2 separate regions of the Homo sapiens genome follow, and region 2 is linked to region 1. The links are contacts of gene promoters, found by promoter capture Hi-C in blood cells and fetal thymus (Javierre and others, 2016). All regions are on one chromosome and are shown on one strand. The core of a region is centred on a gene start or on the middle of the fragment in contact, and the rest is flanking DNA. Distances in the headings are between cores, read along the strand shown. Region 1 holds the start of FGFBP3 (fibroblast growth factor binding protein 3). Region 2 has its middle 40 kb from the start of TNKS2-DT.

Evidence for each region. The method cuts DNA at HindIII sites, captures the fragments that hold promoters and counts their contacts. A CHiCAGO score of 5 or more calls a contact.
Region 2: a fragment that was not itself captured here is called in contact with the fragment with the promoter of FGFBP3 in region 1 in 2 of 17 cell types (activated CD4 T cells and total CD4 T cells); the score reaches 5.6 in activated CD4 T cells.

The regions. Positions count from the first base shown.
Region 1 is chr10:91,906,150-91,912,903 of GRCh38, reverse strand. It overlaps FGFBP3 (fibroblast growth factor binding protein 3), which reads left to right and starts at 3,418. Exons shown (of 2, transcript NM_152429.5): 1 at 3,418-3,506; 2 at 3,857-6,320. The coding sequence starts at 3,935. The coding sequence ends at 4,711. FGFBP3-AS1 (FGFBP3 antisense RNA 1) reads right to left here and starts at 4,775. Exons shown (of 2, transcript NR_199602.1): 1 at 4,655-4,775; 2 at 3,556-4,007. RefSeq lists an enhancer at 3,778-4,072 and a silencer at 3,976-4,545. The HindIII fragment of the contact is 14,773 bases long and covers 1-6,754 here.
Region 2 is chr10:91,755,107-91,762,408 of GRCh38, reverse strand. No RefSeq gene overlaps it. Among named protein-coding and RNA genes, the nearest start is that of TNKS2-DT, 40 kb to the left of the region's middle. The HindIII fragment of the contact is 2,396 bases long and covers 1,200-3,595 here.

The sequences.
Region 1 (6,754 bases), core at 2,169-4,668:
TTTTCTGGGAAAGAAAGGGCTTCCAAGTGTGAAATGTATTAATTAGCTACTCTTATTTTTGAAACTTGTTAATGTTTCTAATCTTCATAGGTACAAATTGGTTTTCATTATAAGTTGAATTGGTGTAATTTTTTTTTTTATTTTTATGTTTTTTGTTTTTTTGAGAAAGAGTCTTGCTCTGTTGCCCAGGCTGGAGTGCAGTGGTGTGACCTCGGCTCACTGCAATCTCTGCCTCCCGGATTCAAGTGATTCTCCTGCCTCAGCCTCCCGAGTAGCTGGGATTACAGGCGTGCACTACCATGCCCAGCTACTTTTTGTATTTTTAGTAGAGATGGGGTTTTGCCATGTTGGCCAGGCTGGTCTCGAACTCCTGACCTCAGGTGATCCACCCGCCTTGGCTTCCCAAAGTGCTGGGATTACAGATGTGAGCCACCATGCCCAGCCTGAATTGGTATAATTAAAACATAACTAATAGTAAAATACAAAGACAAAACATAAAGATCACTGATCACTGAAAGATGTAAGTGGTTTTATCACTAAATGATGTGTGAACCTGGACAAGTTATCTAGTTTCTCTGATTTTACCAGAGTGTTAAAAACTTCCTTTCTGAAGTCAATATACATTGCTATATATTTAATATATACTACTATATATTTAAACATATTCTTCTAATTCTAAAGTATTTTGGTTTTTATAGTAGTAACCAAACTATAATTGTTCAAATATAATACTAACAGGAGTTCAGTAATAGAAAATGCTATATGCAAGAGGACATTAGGAAATATAATAAGAATTCCTGATATCTTGAGGAAGTATTTAAGTAAAATATTTACTTGTGTAAAAAAATTACAGTCAGAGGTATAAACTTCTGCAATTAAAAAAAATCACATTTATTAATGAGAACATTTTTAAAAGATGATGGAATATTCTGAAGTTTTAAAACAGCTTTGCTAAGGGTCATTTCTGTGTGTCACTTTATTTCTTTTTATATAGCTATAGTATATTTAAACAATAATGCTGTCTTTTATAAGGGTTTGTCTATTTACCTATTCTTTACTCAGACATTGATGTAGACCTTGTCAGATTATTCTGAGTATTGTTAACAGTGCCTTTTTGATGGAATTCACACTTTTTGGCTGTCAACTTGTGCCATATACACACAAAATTTTGTGGAAGGCAGTTTTAATTTTTTGAAGAACATCTGTCAAAATTTAAGAAAACAAATGTATAAAATTCCATTTTTTCCAGTGTTTAGCATTTCTAGTAAGCAGTGAGGTTTTTTGTTTGACATACAGTGATGATGGCATTATTGACAAGCTATACATGAGACTGCAGATTATACTGAATCATGTTAAATGTACAGAAATAAAATATTAGATTTATATCAAACTTTCGCATTTGAACCAGTGGGGAAAACCCCACAGAAATCAGTAAGTTAACATTTCAATGTCTTTCTTATTTGACTAAGTGGAAAGAGAGTCTTTAAAATGTATAACCTGCCATTATGTAATTTGGTTTCATTTTATTCTACCTGTTGTGTGAGTTTAGTATATTTAATTTACTTTGTGTTACTCTACATACTGTTTATTTTTGTTACAGTTTTTAATTGAAGATGGACTCTGAAAGTGGTATAGGACCAGTGTCTTATTAATATCATTAATATATTAAGAGGAGCCACACAAAACCCATGACAAAATGAATGGAAATATTCTTTCTAAAAATTTAGAAAATTTTATACTTTTGCATTTATTATGTAAAATTATTTGTTTTACAATATCAAAATTTTTCGTTTAAAGAAAAAAATGCCATGAAACATTTGAACTGATGAGCCACAGAACTTCAGTTGAAATTTTTTTCACTTTTTAGCATGCTAAATATACATCTCAGTTTAAATATTCTGTTTAATGGCCATTTATAAATTCAAGCACTACCACTGGTCAGTTTTGTGTGATAGAATAAAAATATGTTACCTGCAGTGTAAGTATAGCACACTGTCAAATTCTTTTCCTTAAGGTGCACAGTAAATGTACAGATAGTTATAGGCCACTGTTTTTGCAATGTAGTACATTTCTAATCTATTATTCCTAACCTATTATAACTGTTTGCAGAGAGAAAATAATTGAATTTTTCTAATAATCTGTAAAATTATGCTAACTTCTACAAGTAGGCTTCTAAATAAAAATTTTAAAAAGAGCAAAAAAAAAAAAAAAGAAAGAAAAAACAGCTTTGCTTGGTCAGCACTTTGAGAGGCTGAGGCAGGTGGCTCATCTCAGGTCAGGAGTTCGATACCAGACTGGGCAACATGGTGAAACCCCTTCTCCACTAAAAATTAGCTGGGTGTTGTGGCAGGCACCTGTAATTCCAGCTACTGGGGAGGCTGAGGCAGGTGAATCGCTTGAACCGGGAAGGCAGAGGTTGCAGTGAGCCGAGATAGCACCACTGCGCTCCAGCCTGGGTGACAGAGTGAGCTCCCGTCTCAAAACAAACAAACAAACAAACAAACAAACAAACCCCCGCACACACACACAATCCCCCCCTCCAGAAAAAGCAGCTTTGCTTAAATGTAACATTTTCAAGATTCAAGAACACATTCATTCTCTCTCTCTTTTTTTTTTTTTTTGAGAGGCAGTCTCGCCCTGTCCCGGGTTCAAGTGATTCTCCTGCCTCAGCCTCCTGAGTAGCTGGGATTACAGGCATCTGCCACCACGCCTGGCTAATTTTTGTATTTTTAGTAGAGACGGGATTTCACCAGGCCAGGCTGGTCTCACATTCTTAACTATTATACCATTTCAATTGGTAATCTTACCGTTCAACTACTATAATACAAATAATTTTTTTAAACTTCTAATTTTTGGAGGACCCTTATAACTGATTTCTAATACCTAAAAATAATAAAAAGCCCAAATGTCCACTCCTGGGTGAACTGCTGGGCACTATTGTATGTTAATAAACTAGGATATTATATTTTTATTAGTAGTAACAATTATTAAGATTGAGAGTCTTAAGAAAGGCTATTGGAAATAATAGGTAAAAATGTAGAACTCAGAATATGAGAAATAGAATGTAAATGATATAATTGTGTAAAAAATGCCTAGTTTAGAATACTGAAGTTTGTTTTGTTTCATTTTATTTAACTTTTAAAACTTAGATCTTTTGTTTAATTTTTATTTTTTGGATGGTTAAGTACATGAAAGAAGAAAAACTTGGTTAATTTTGCCTGATTATTTTAAACATTGGAAGCAAAATACAAGATTTGTATTTCATACTACAGGACCGCTTCCATCATCCATCTGGAGAGACAGAGAGAGAGAGGGAGAGAGAGAGAGAAGCGCGGCGGTGATAAGTCTCCCAGTGTGAGAGAAATCGGGGAGGGGCGAAGAAGGGTAGGCCTCTTCTGTTCCATTGATACCACGTTCATTCACAGGGAGCCGGCTAAAACAGACTACTCCCCCGTGCAGTCGTTCCCTCTACCCTAATAAGGCTTTGGCGCCTCTCCCAGAACTCGGTAAGTTCAAAGTGTAGTAAAGTGCATGTTTCCAAGGAATCATCTGAAATGATTTTGTAGATAGTTTATTGCAGGTTGGAGAAGGGAGAAAATGAAGGAAGGGGTAGAGGGGGCAATTATCACGCATCGTTTTGCTATCGTATTTGCAAGGGGAAGAAAATCTCAATGCATACATGGTTCGAAAGTGATTATTTAGACAGTAAGCAGTTTCCCCAGGAAAGCTCCTCAGAGGGTCTCCTCGCAGGCTGCAGATTCTAGAAAGTCTGCGGAAGAGTAGTTCGCAGGTGCATGTGTCTGGGCGAAGCGCTGCGTGTGGCTCAGTTGGTGGCAGTCTCTGCCTCTGTCCGCAGGTCCTGGGGAATGCTCTTTGCCTGGTCCAGCCCCGACAAACGTGGTCTGAGAACAGCGGAGCGCGGAAACCGCGGAGCATGACTCCTCCGAAGCTGCGAGCGTCGCTGTCGCCGTCGCTGCTGCTGCTGCTGAGTGGTTGCCTCCTCGCGGCTGCTCGGAGGGAGAAAGGGGCGGCTAGCAACGTGGCGGAGCCGGTCCCCGGGCCCACTGGCGGCTCCTCGGGTCGCTTCCTCAGCCCCGAGCAGCACGCGTGCAGCTGGCAGCTCCTGCTGCCCGCCCCGGAGGCCGCAGCGGGCAGCGAGCTGGCGCTGCGCTGCCAGAGCCCGGACGGGGCGCGCCACCAGTGCGCCTACCGCGGGCATCCGGAGCGCTGCGCAGCCTACGCCGCTCGCCGCGCGCACTTCTGGAAGCAGGTGCTGGGAGGGCTGCGCAAGAAGCGGAGGCCCTGTCACGACCCCGCGCCGCTCCAGGCCCGCTTGTGCGCGGGCAAGAAGGGCCACGGCGCCGAGCTGCGGCTAGTGCCCCGCGCGTCCCCGCCCGCACGCCCCACCGTCGCGGGATTCGCGGGGGAGTCCAAGCCCCGGGCCCGGAACCGGGGGCGGACCCGGGAGCGTGCGTCCGGCCCAGCCGCTGGGACCCCGCCTCCCCAAAGCGCACCGCCCAAAGAAAACCCCTCAGAGAGGAAGACCAACGAGGGCAAGAGGAAGGCGGCCTTGGTCCCCAACGAGGAGCGACCCATGGGGACCGGGCCCGACCCCGACGGGCTGGACGGGAACGCGGAGCTCACGGAGACCTACTGCGCTGAGAAGTGGCACTCCCTCTGCAACTTCTTTGTCAATTTCTGGAACGGCTGAGACTGCCTGCCGGCTTAGGGAGGGTTGATGGGGGAGGCGTGGGGAAGGGAAAGCTAAGGGCGTCTTAGACCGGGGGGTACTGTGATAGAGATTGGGGAGAAGTCCAGGTTCTCGAATGGGGGTGGGGGCAAGGGTAAGGGTGAGATGCTTGGGATGAGAGTGTAAGGGGTATGGAGAATCTCTGGGATAGCAGAGAAGTTAAAAATTTTGAAAAGTCTCAGTCCTGATTAAGAGCAGGAAAAATAATGGAAACAGAAATAGGCGTACTTTAAATGTGCAAAAACTGGAGACTGGGGAGAGAAATCGATGCAGAGGGAGGCTGAGAATAAGGGGGAGATAGAGTGACTAAAGTGATGTGAGTCCCATGTGGGGAGGGGGATGCAATGTTTATTGTTTAACATTTCTATTAAATGCAGCCATGAGCAATTGCCAACCTGAGCCAGGTTGAATCAATGTCTTCTCACTTAATCAGCTAACAAGACTGCAGACTTTTTTTCCGTTTCTGAATTGGTATAAACTTGGATGCGGCGTGGTGGGTGTCATAGATAACCTCTATAGGGACAGAAGCCTCACAGGTCAAAACTGGCTCCAAGGAAAGTTTTGCAGAATGATTTCCTTTCCATTCTTTTAGAAGAGCTACCTTTTTTTTTTTTTTTCCCTGACAGGGTCTGGCTTGCCCAGGCTGGAGTGCGGTGGCTAGTCACAGGTGTAATAATAGGCACTGCAGTCTCCAACTCCTGGCCTCAAGGGATCCTCACATCTTAGCCTCCAGAATAGCTAGGAGTAGGAGTAGCTGGGACTACAAGCATGCACAGCTGCACTTGGCTTAGAAGTGCTACTTTATTTTTATTTTTGAGACAGGGTCTTGTGTCATCCAGACTGGAGCAGTGGTGCAATTATGGCTCACTGCGGCCTCGACATTCCAGTCTCAAGTGATCCTCTGCCTCAGCCTCCGGAGTAGCCAGGACTACAGGGGTGTGCCACTAGAAGTGCTACTTTTTAACGAAATGGTGACTAATGTTCTGGAACTTTCCCATTAACCTTCTGCATTTAGAAGGAATTATAGATGTTGAGTGCTCCAGTAAACAGTGATTCTCTTTATATCTGATTTTTTTTTTTAAACAGCTAAAATGTAAGTATGTATCTCAGAGTCATTTTGACCATTATGGAAGTTGTATCTCTCTGTTTCATGTAACTAATTATTAATATATTTCATTTTTAGTGTGATGTAATGAGAGACTGTGTGTGTATGTTAGGTGCTCAATAAAAACTGTATGGTTAGATTTAAAGAAGTGGCAAGGCAATGGAAATTCTACCTGCATTTGATCTACTTCCAAGTACACCTTGAATTAAGTTCTTAAACACATCTTGAATTGCTGGGAAAAGACAGAAACTAAGAAGTTGACATAAAGCAAGAGTCACAAACTGGCAGCCACCTGGCCTTATCATTGTTCTATTTGATTTGCACCCTGGTTCTCTTTCTTTTTCCCTTCCTCCCCACCTTCCTCCCATCCATTGTTGAATCTGTGGATGCAGAGCCCACGGATGTGGAGGGGCAACTATATATATGTTTTTCCATTATATATATAAATGTGTGTGTGTGTATATATGTGTGTGTGTGTTGCAACCACTTATTTGGGAACTTGAAGTTAAATCCTCATGGTCATTCCCTTAACAAGGTGAGATCGCTTTATTCTGAATATTTTGGTCCTCCATTTGAAGCATACCATTGCATACTATATTAAAACAACAACTTCATAGTCCTTGCACCCTAAACACCTATGATCTCAACACAAAATTTGTTCATAATCAGTTAAATTCTAATTCTTCAAATAAGAGTAAATCATTACTTTATTATTCTCAACTCTACAAGTTACATATGGTGGCAGACTATAAGTATATAATATAGTTACTTACATGATCCCTACCTCCTGGTATTCTCACCTCTGTGTATTCCCCTTTCTTTGATTATGCGCAGGGCCTGTGAATTGCTTGTAAGCATGGTGGGTACACTATCATCTGAAAGATGTATCTTAGTTTTCC
Region 2 (7,302 bases), core at 1,148-3,647, 150 kb after region 1:
TCTTGTCCTGGATTTTTGTTATTGTTGTCAGGAGATTTTTAAAAAATTACTGATTCAGTTTAACTACTTGCCATTTGTCTGCTCAAGATTTCTATGTCTTCCTGGTTCAATCTTGAGAAGTTGTATGTTTACAGGAATTTGTCTGTTTTCTCTAGGTTTTCTAGTTTGTGCACATAGGGGTGCTAATAATAGTCTCTGATGATCTTCTGTATTTCTGTATTGTCCATTGTAATGTCTCCTTTATAATTTCTGATTGTGCTTATTTGAATCTTCTCTATTTTTTTCTTGATTAACCTAGCAAGGAGTATATCAGCCTGTTTACCTTTTCAAATAACCAACTTTTTGTTGATCCTTTGTTTCTTTTTTTGATCTCAATTTCTCTGATCTTTGTTATTTCTTTTCTTAGGCTAGATTTCGGTGTGGTTTGTTCTTGTTTTTCTAGTTCCTTGAGTTGCAACATTTGGTTGTTAATTTGAGATCTTCCTGTCTTTTTGATGTAGGCAAGCTACAAACTTCCTTGTCAGTGCTGTCAGTGGGGTGTTGAAATTCCCCATTATTATTGTATTGCTGTCTATCTCTTTTCTTATGTCTAGTAGTATTTGTTTTATGAATCTAGGTACTTTGGTGTTGGGTGCATATATATTTAGAATTGTTACATTTTCTTGTTGAATTCTTTTATCATTTTATAATGACCTTCTTTGTCTTTTTTTCCTGTTGTTGGTTTAAAGTCTGTTTTATCTGATGTGAGTATAGCCACTACTGCTTTCTTTGTTTTCTGTTTGTGTGGAATGTCTTTTTCCACTCCTTTACTTTGAGTTTGTAAATATCTTTACCCATTAGGTGGGTTTCTTGTAAGCAGTATTTGGTTGGATTTTATTTTTTATCCACTCTTCCAGTGTATGTCTTTTAAGTGGAGCATTTAGTCCATTTACATTCAAGGTTAATATTGATATATGAATTTTTTTCCCATTATGATGTTAATTGTTACCTAGTTGCTTTGTAGTCTCAATTGTGAAATTGCTTTATAAGACCTGTGAGCTTTATACGTTTGTGTGCTTTTATGATGATGAGTATTGCCTTTTCATTTCCATGTTTAGAACTCCTTTGAACATTTTTTGTACAACTGGTCTAGTGTTGATGGATTTCCTTAGCATTGACTTGTCTGGGAAATACTTTAGTTATTCTTTATTTATAAAGCTTAGTTTAGTAGGATAAAAAATTCTTGGCCAGCAGTTCCTTTTTTTGGAGATGGAGTCTTACTCTGTCGCCCAGGCTGGAGTGCAGTGGTGTGATCTTGGCTCACTGCAATCTCCGCCTCCTGGGCTCAAGCAAGTCTCCTGCCTCAGCCTCTCAAGTAGCTGGGATTATGGGTGCACACCACCATGCCTGGCTAATTGCCAGCAGTTCTTTTCTTTAAGAGAACTGAAAATAGGACCCTAATCTCTTCTAGCTTATAAGATTTCTGCTGAGAAGTTGCTAGTCTGATGAGATTTTCTTTTTTTTTTTGAGATGGAGTCTTGCTCTGTAGCCCAGACTGCAGTGGTGTGATCTCGGCTCACTGCAACCTTCACCTCCTGAGTTCAAGTAATTCTCCTGCCTCAGCCTCCCTAGTAGCTAGGATTACAGGCCGCACCACCATGCCTGGCTAATTTTTGTATTTTTAGTAGAGATGGAGTTTCACCATGTTGGCCAGGCTGCTCTCGAACTCCTGACCTCAGGTGATCCACCTGCCTCCGCCTGCGTCTGCCTCCCAAAGTGTTGGGATTACAGGTGTGAGCCACCTCACCCAGCCAGGATTTTCTTTATAGGTGATTAGTTGCCTCTCTCTTGCTGCTTTTAGAATTTGTTCCTTCACACTGACTTTGGATAGTCTGATGACTATCTGGGCAAAGATTTTAAAAAGAGGACCTAAAGAATGTGCTAACCATAAAAGATAAAATTAATAAACTGAACTTTACTCATCAAAGATAATGTTAAGACCATAACTGGTCAAGCCCCAGAGTAGAAGATAATTATAATATATTTATATCTTACCACTGACTCACACAAATTAATAAAGAAAAGATAGAAAATATGTGTTTTTTTTTGGAAACAGGGTCTTGCCCTATGGCCCAGGCTGGAGGGAAGTGGTGCAATTATAGCTCACTTCAGCCTCAAACTCCTGAGCTCAAGCAATCCTCTCAGCTTGGTCTCCCAAAGTGTTGGGATTACAGGCATGAGCCATTGTACCTAGCCTGAAAATATTATACAAAATGAAGAAAAGATTGGAACATTCTTAACCAATAAGCATATAAACAATTTCATTAGTTTTCAGGGAAAAGCAATTTAAAACTATAATGAGATATCACTATATACCCACCAGAATGGCTACTGTTTAAAGGACTGACAATACCAAGTGCTGAGGAGGAAATGGAATAGTGGAGTTCGTATCCTGCTTGTGGGAGTGTGGATTGGTACAACTACTTCAGAAAATTGGCAGTATTTACTAAAGCTGAACATATGCAAATGTCATGACTCAGCAATTCCACTTCTAAGTATATGCTCACTCAAAGAAATGCATACACATATTGATTCAGTGTATATATAGAAACTTCATAACAGCACTATTCATAATAGCTCCAAACTGGACACCACACAAATGATCATGAATAAGTAAGTTGTGATGCATAGCAGTGAAAACAAAGTAGATGATTCTCATCAACACAATGAAAAGCCAAACAAGTGGGATGAGTCATATAAACTTCAAAACAGGCGAAAGCCATCTCTGTGGTATTAGATGTCAGAATAATGGTCACCACTTCGGTGAGGTGATTAGGAACGTCTGGGCGGCTGGTAGTGTTCTAGTTCTTGATCTAGGTGCTGGTTATTTGGATGTAACTAAACAAATAGCAAATAAAATTTAAAAAGGTAAAATATACAATTGCACAAAAACGTTTATGTTAATTTCACTTTGCGAACATCAGTCAAGCTATATGCTTACAATTTGTGCACTTTTCTTTAGTTTTGTTATACCTCAATAAAAAGTTTACTGAAAAACAACCAACCACCCAACCAATCCTCTCTGCACTTGGTGCTGAATTTTTGTACTAATCAAATAACAAGGAATCAAATACTAAGGAAATAACAAAACATGTGAGTGGAAGAAACAATTTCCTTGATACAGTAGAAATTGTAGCTTATAACAAATTCTATTCAATGTATCATATTTTAACTTTAAAATACCTTTATGACCTAGAGAAAGGTGTGAAACAAATTCCAAATATAAGTAGTGATAGCCAATCTCTTTTCTTAAATATTAAAGAACACAATTTTTATAACCAACAAGTAACTTTTGATCTGACAATATAAACAATTACACTGAGATAATTTTTATATATGTCTTTCAGTCTCCAGGGCAAAATTCCTTACATGTTTTAGAAAATTTTCAGCCTGAAACAAATAAAATTTCTCTCATTATTTTCTAGAACACATTACATTTTTATCATATTGACTTTTTGCAATGCGGGGGTGAACAAATAAAGTAATACATGAACATTTTGTAGGAGTGAGCCTATTAAATGGCTGCATATATGCTTGCCTCTGTAAAAGGTAAGCTTTAAAACTTGAAAACTGCTGCAAGTTGGCATAGCTCTTACAGTTCTTGGTAAAGACAGCCATCTAGTGGAAATAGTTCTATTGACTTTTGAAGGCTGGCAAATAGAATGAATATGAACCCTCAGTTCAACTTAAACTTCAATGTTGGTTTAAGGCTTAAGAAGAGGTAATCCATCTTAACAGGACATTTATAAAGTTTGGGGCATTTTTGGGGCAAATCATAATTTGCATTTGGAAAGTATTTTAATAATGTTCACAAGGTAAAATTCATTCATTTTCGTGAACTAATTATGGACAACATGTTAATAAAATTTCAACTAATTCTAAAAAAAAAAAAAAAAAAAGGAGAGGTATTAAAAAAAAGATCCAGTATTTGGATGCTCCTTATCTTGTGTCCAGGTCTGGAACTGGGGAGGGAGTGTAGGTTGTGGGGTAGGGAAAAAAATTGGTACTTTGGTCTAGGGAGGAATAGAGTGCCATTAGAATAAAGAGAGCGCTGGACTCAAAGATGCCTTGCTTTGGACTGTATTGAATGCTCTCTCTAGGTGGCAGAAAGAAGACAATTTGGTAGGATAGCAGGAAGTTGGTTTTGTTTTTTTTTTTAATGTAAGCTGAACAACCATGCCTAGTTGTGGTGTAGGAAGTTTAGTTAGTTGGTAGCCATCAGCTCAGTAAGAGTTCTAGAATAAGTATTCCTTTAAGTTGATGGTTTAAATAACTAGAGCCTTGCAATAGATCAAAAGCACACTACAGGCTCTGATTATGAGAAGGAATGGTATGAAGCAAAGAGTCTGAATTAGAACTGTGAAGACGTGAGTTAGGTATGCTTCTGGTGTGTATAATCTTATGACTTTGCTTATTTTACTTACCCGAATTACACTTTTCTTATTTATAAAAACTGTAGAGTAACAAAATCCACTCCAATGACTTGTGCCCAGGGAGAGAGCAACTCTCTTTTTTTGGTTTGTTGGAGTCAGTTGTGATTTAGTGATACCCAGAGACACCTAGTAAAATTCTCTCATTATGGCTTATCATTAATGTGTTTCTCTAACTTTTAACAGGTTTGATGATGGATGCCCTGAACTGTAGGTCAGGTTTTAAATGCAGGCTTTTTCTTACCTTTTATGTTCTTCTAAATTAGAAAATGCTAATTCATAATTGTAAGTCATTAAAAGAGCAAATATTTGAAGGCTTTGTCAGATAGTTTTGGACTTTTGAGTTGCATATTAATCCAGAAATTGTGGAGAGATTTTTCTCTGAGCAGCACATTTGGTTCTCTTCTTGTTCAGATGCCGATATTTCAAATGTTTCAAATATTTGAATGTCTAATAACACTCTGCTTGTGTGTGCGTCTAAGAAATATTTCTTGATATTCTGTTGCAGTGTTTGGTTGTAGTTTTAAAATATGCTTTTGCTCTATCCATAGCTAGTATTCTATCACTACCAAATTATTGATACAGTTTCCATTTCACATCACAGATGGACACAAAATAGATGTTAAACATGTTCTCTTCCTCTGTAGCATGCATTTTCAGTGGTAAACACATAAAGTCATGAGGTCCTTCCTATATCAGGGTCCCCAATCTCTATGCTGTGGAATGGTACAAGTCAGTGGTCTGTTAGGAACTGGGTTGCACAACAGGAGGTGAGCAGCTGGTAAGTGAGCATTACCAGTTGAGATTTGCTTCCTTTCAGATCATTGGCAGCATCAGATTCTCACAGGAGTGCGAACCCTATTGCGAACGGTGCATGCAAGGGATCTAGGTTGCATGCTCCTTATGAGAATCTAATGCCTGATGATCTGAGGTGGAAGAGTTTCATCCCGAAACCATCCCCCCATCCCCATCTGTGGAAAAATTGTCTTCCGTGAAACTGACCCCTGGTGCCAAAAAGGTTGGGGGCCATTAATCTATATAATATATATAATGTTAAGAGGTTGCCATGGCTTGAATATTTGTCACTTCCAAAACTCATGTTGAAATTTAATCCCCAATGTGGCAGTATTGAGAGGTAGGATATTTAAGGGGTGATTGAACCTTGAGGGCTCTGCTCTTATGAATGGATTAATCCATTTATGGATTAATGGATTAGAGGGTTAATGGATTAATAGGTTATCATGGGAATGGAACTGGTGGCTTTATAAAAAGAGGAAGAGAGACCTGAGTATAGCGCATTAACATGTTCAGTCTCCTTACCATGTGATCTCCTGTACCACCACTGGGCTCTGTACAGGATTCCCACCAGCAAGAAAGCTCTCACCAGATGTGGCCCCTTGACCTTGGACTTCTCAGCCTCCAGAACTTAAGAAACAAATTCCTTTTCTCTACAAATTACCCCGTTTCAAGTATTTTGTTATAAGCACAGAAAATGAACTAAGACAGAGGTGACTCATCATTTCAGTGGTTTTGAGCAACTATGTAGAATGAAGTACATTCTAGCACAGATATGTGATAGTAATTACCTTCCATATAGCTATATTTCAGATACTCAGAGTTCAATAGTGTTATCTGACAAATTTTGCTAATAGCTCATTATGCTTTCTAGAAGAAAAACATCAATTTCATTGATTATGGCTATTACTACAAACTTCTTACCAATACTATAACTTATACCTGTTTTTACTGTAAGGAATGAAACTTTGAATGATGTTTCTGTAATTCGGTCTCTTTTGTGCCTTTTGTAATCAAGATTCCTCAATTTAAGACTGGAAAGCATTATCTTGTGCATATTTGGTTACTGGAGAGATCATGGTGCTTTAACTGAAAATGACCCTAATATTTCAAAGTCATAAACCAGTTGATGAATTTTCATAAGAGATAATGTTCTGGAGACTAAGAGCAAATGGCTCATCAGTTCTCAAAAATTCTATCTTCAGATGCCAATCATCATACTTAGTGGAACTTGTCTTTTAAAGCTTCTGTATGGAAAAATTACACTCAGATGTACCTGAACCAATTCTAGTTCTGTATTCACACTATAGATTTGTGATACAATTCATAATGGTAATATTTTTGTTATAATTTTAATCACTATTTTTATACCTTAGTGAACCATTGTTGAGCTTCAATGTATGTTTTCAAATCAGGGATATTACTCAATATAATAGAAAAAACTGCACATTTTACAAACATAAAAATTAATGCCATATCATGTTTAAAAAGTTAGTTTTTTTAAAATTTATTATTATTATACTTTAAGTTTTAGGGTACATGTGCACAATGTGCAGGTTAGTTACATATGTATACATGTGCCATGCTGGTGCGCTGCACCCACTAACTCGTCATCTAGCATTAGGTATATCTCCCAGTGCTATCCCTACCCCCTCCCCCCACCCCACAACAGTCCCCAGAGTGTGATGTTCCCCTTCCTGTGTCCATGTGTTGTTCTCATTGTTCAATTCCCACCTATGAGTGAGAATATGCGGTGTTTGGTTTTTTGTTCTTGTGATAGTTTACTGAGAATGATGATTTCCAATTTCATCCATGTCCCTACAAAGGACGTGAACTCATCATTTTTTATGGCTGCATAGTATTCCATGGTGTATATGTGCCACATTTTCTTAATCCAGTCTATCATTGTTGGATATTTGGGTTGGTTCCAAGTCTTTGCTATTGTGAATAATGCCGCAATAAATATACATGTGCATGTGTCTTTATAGCAGCATGATTTATAGTCCATTGGGTATATACCCAGTAATGGGATGGCTGG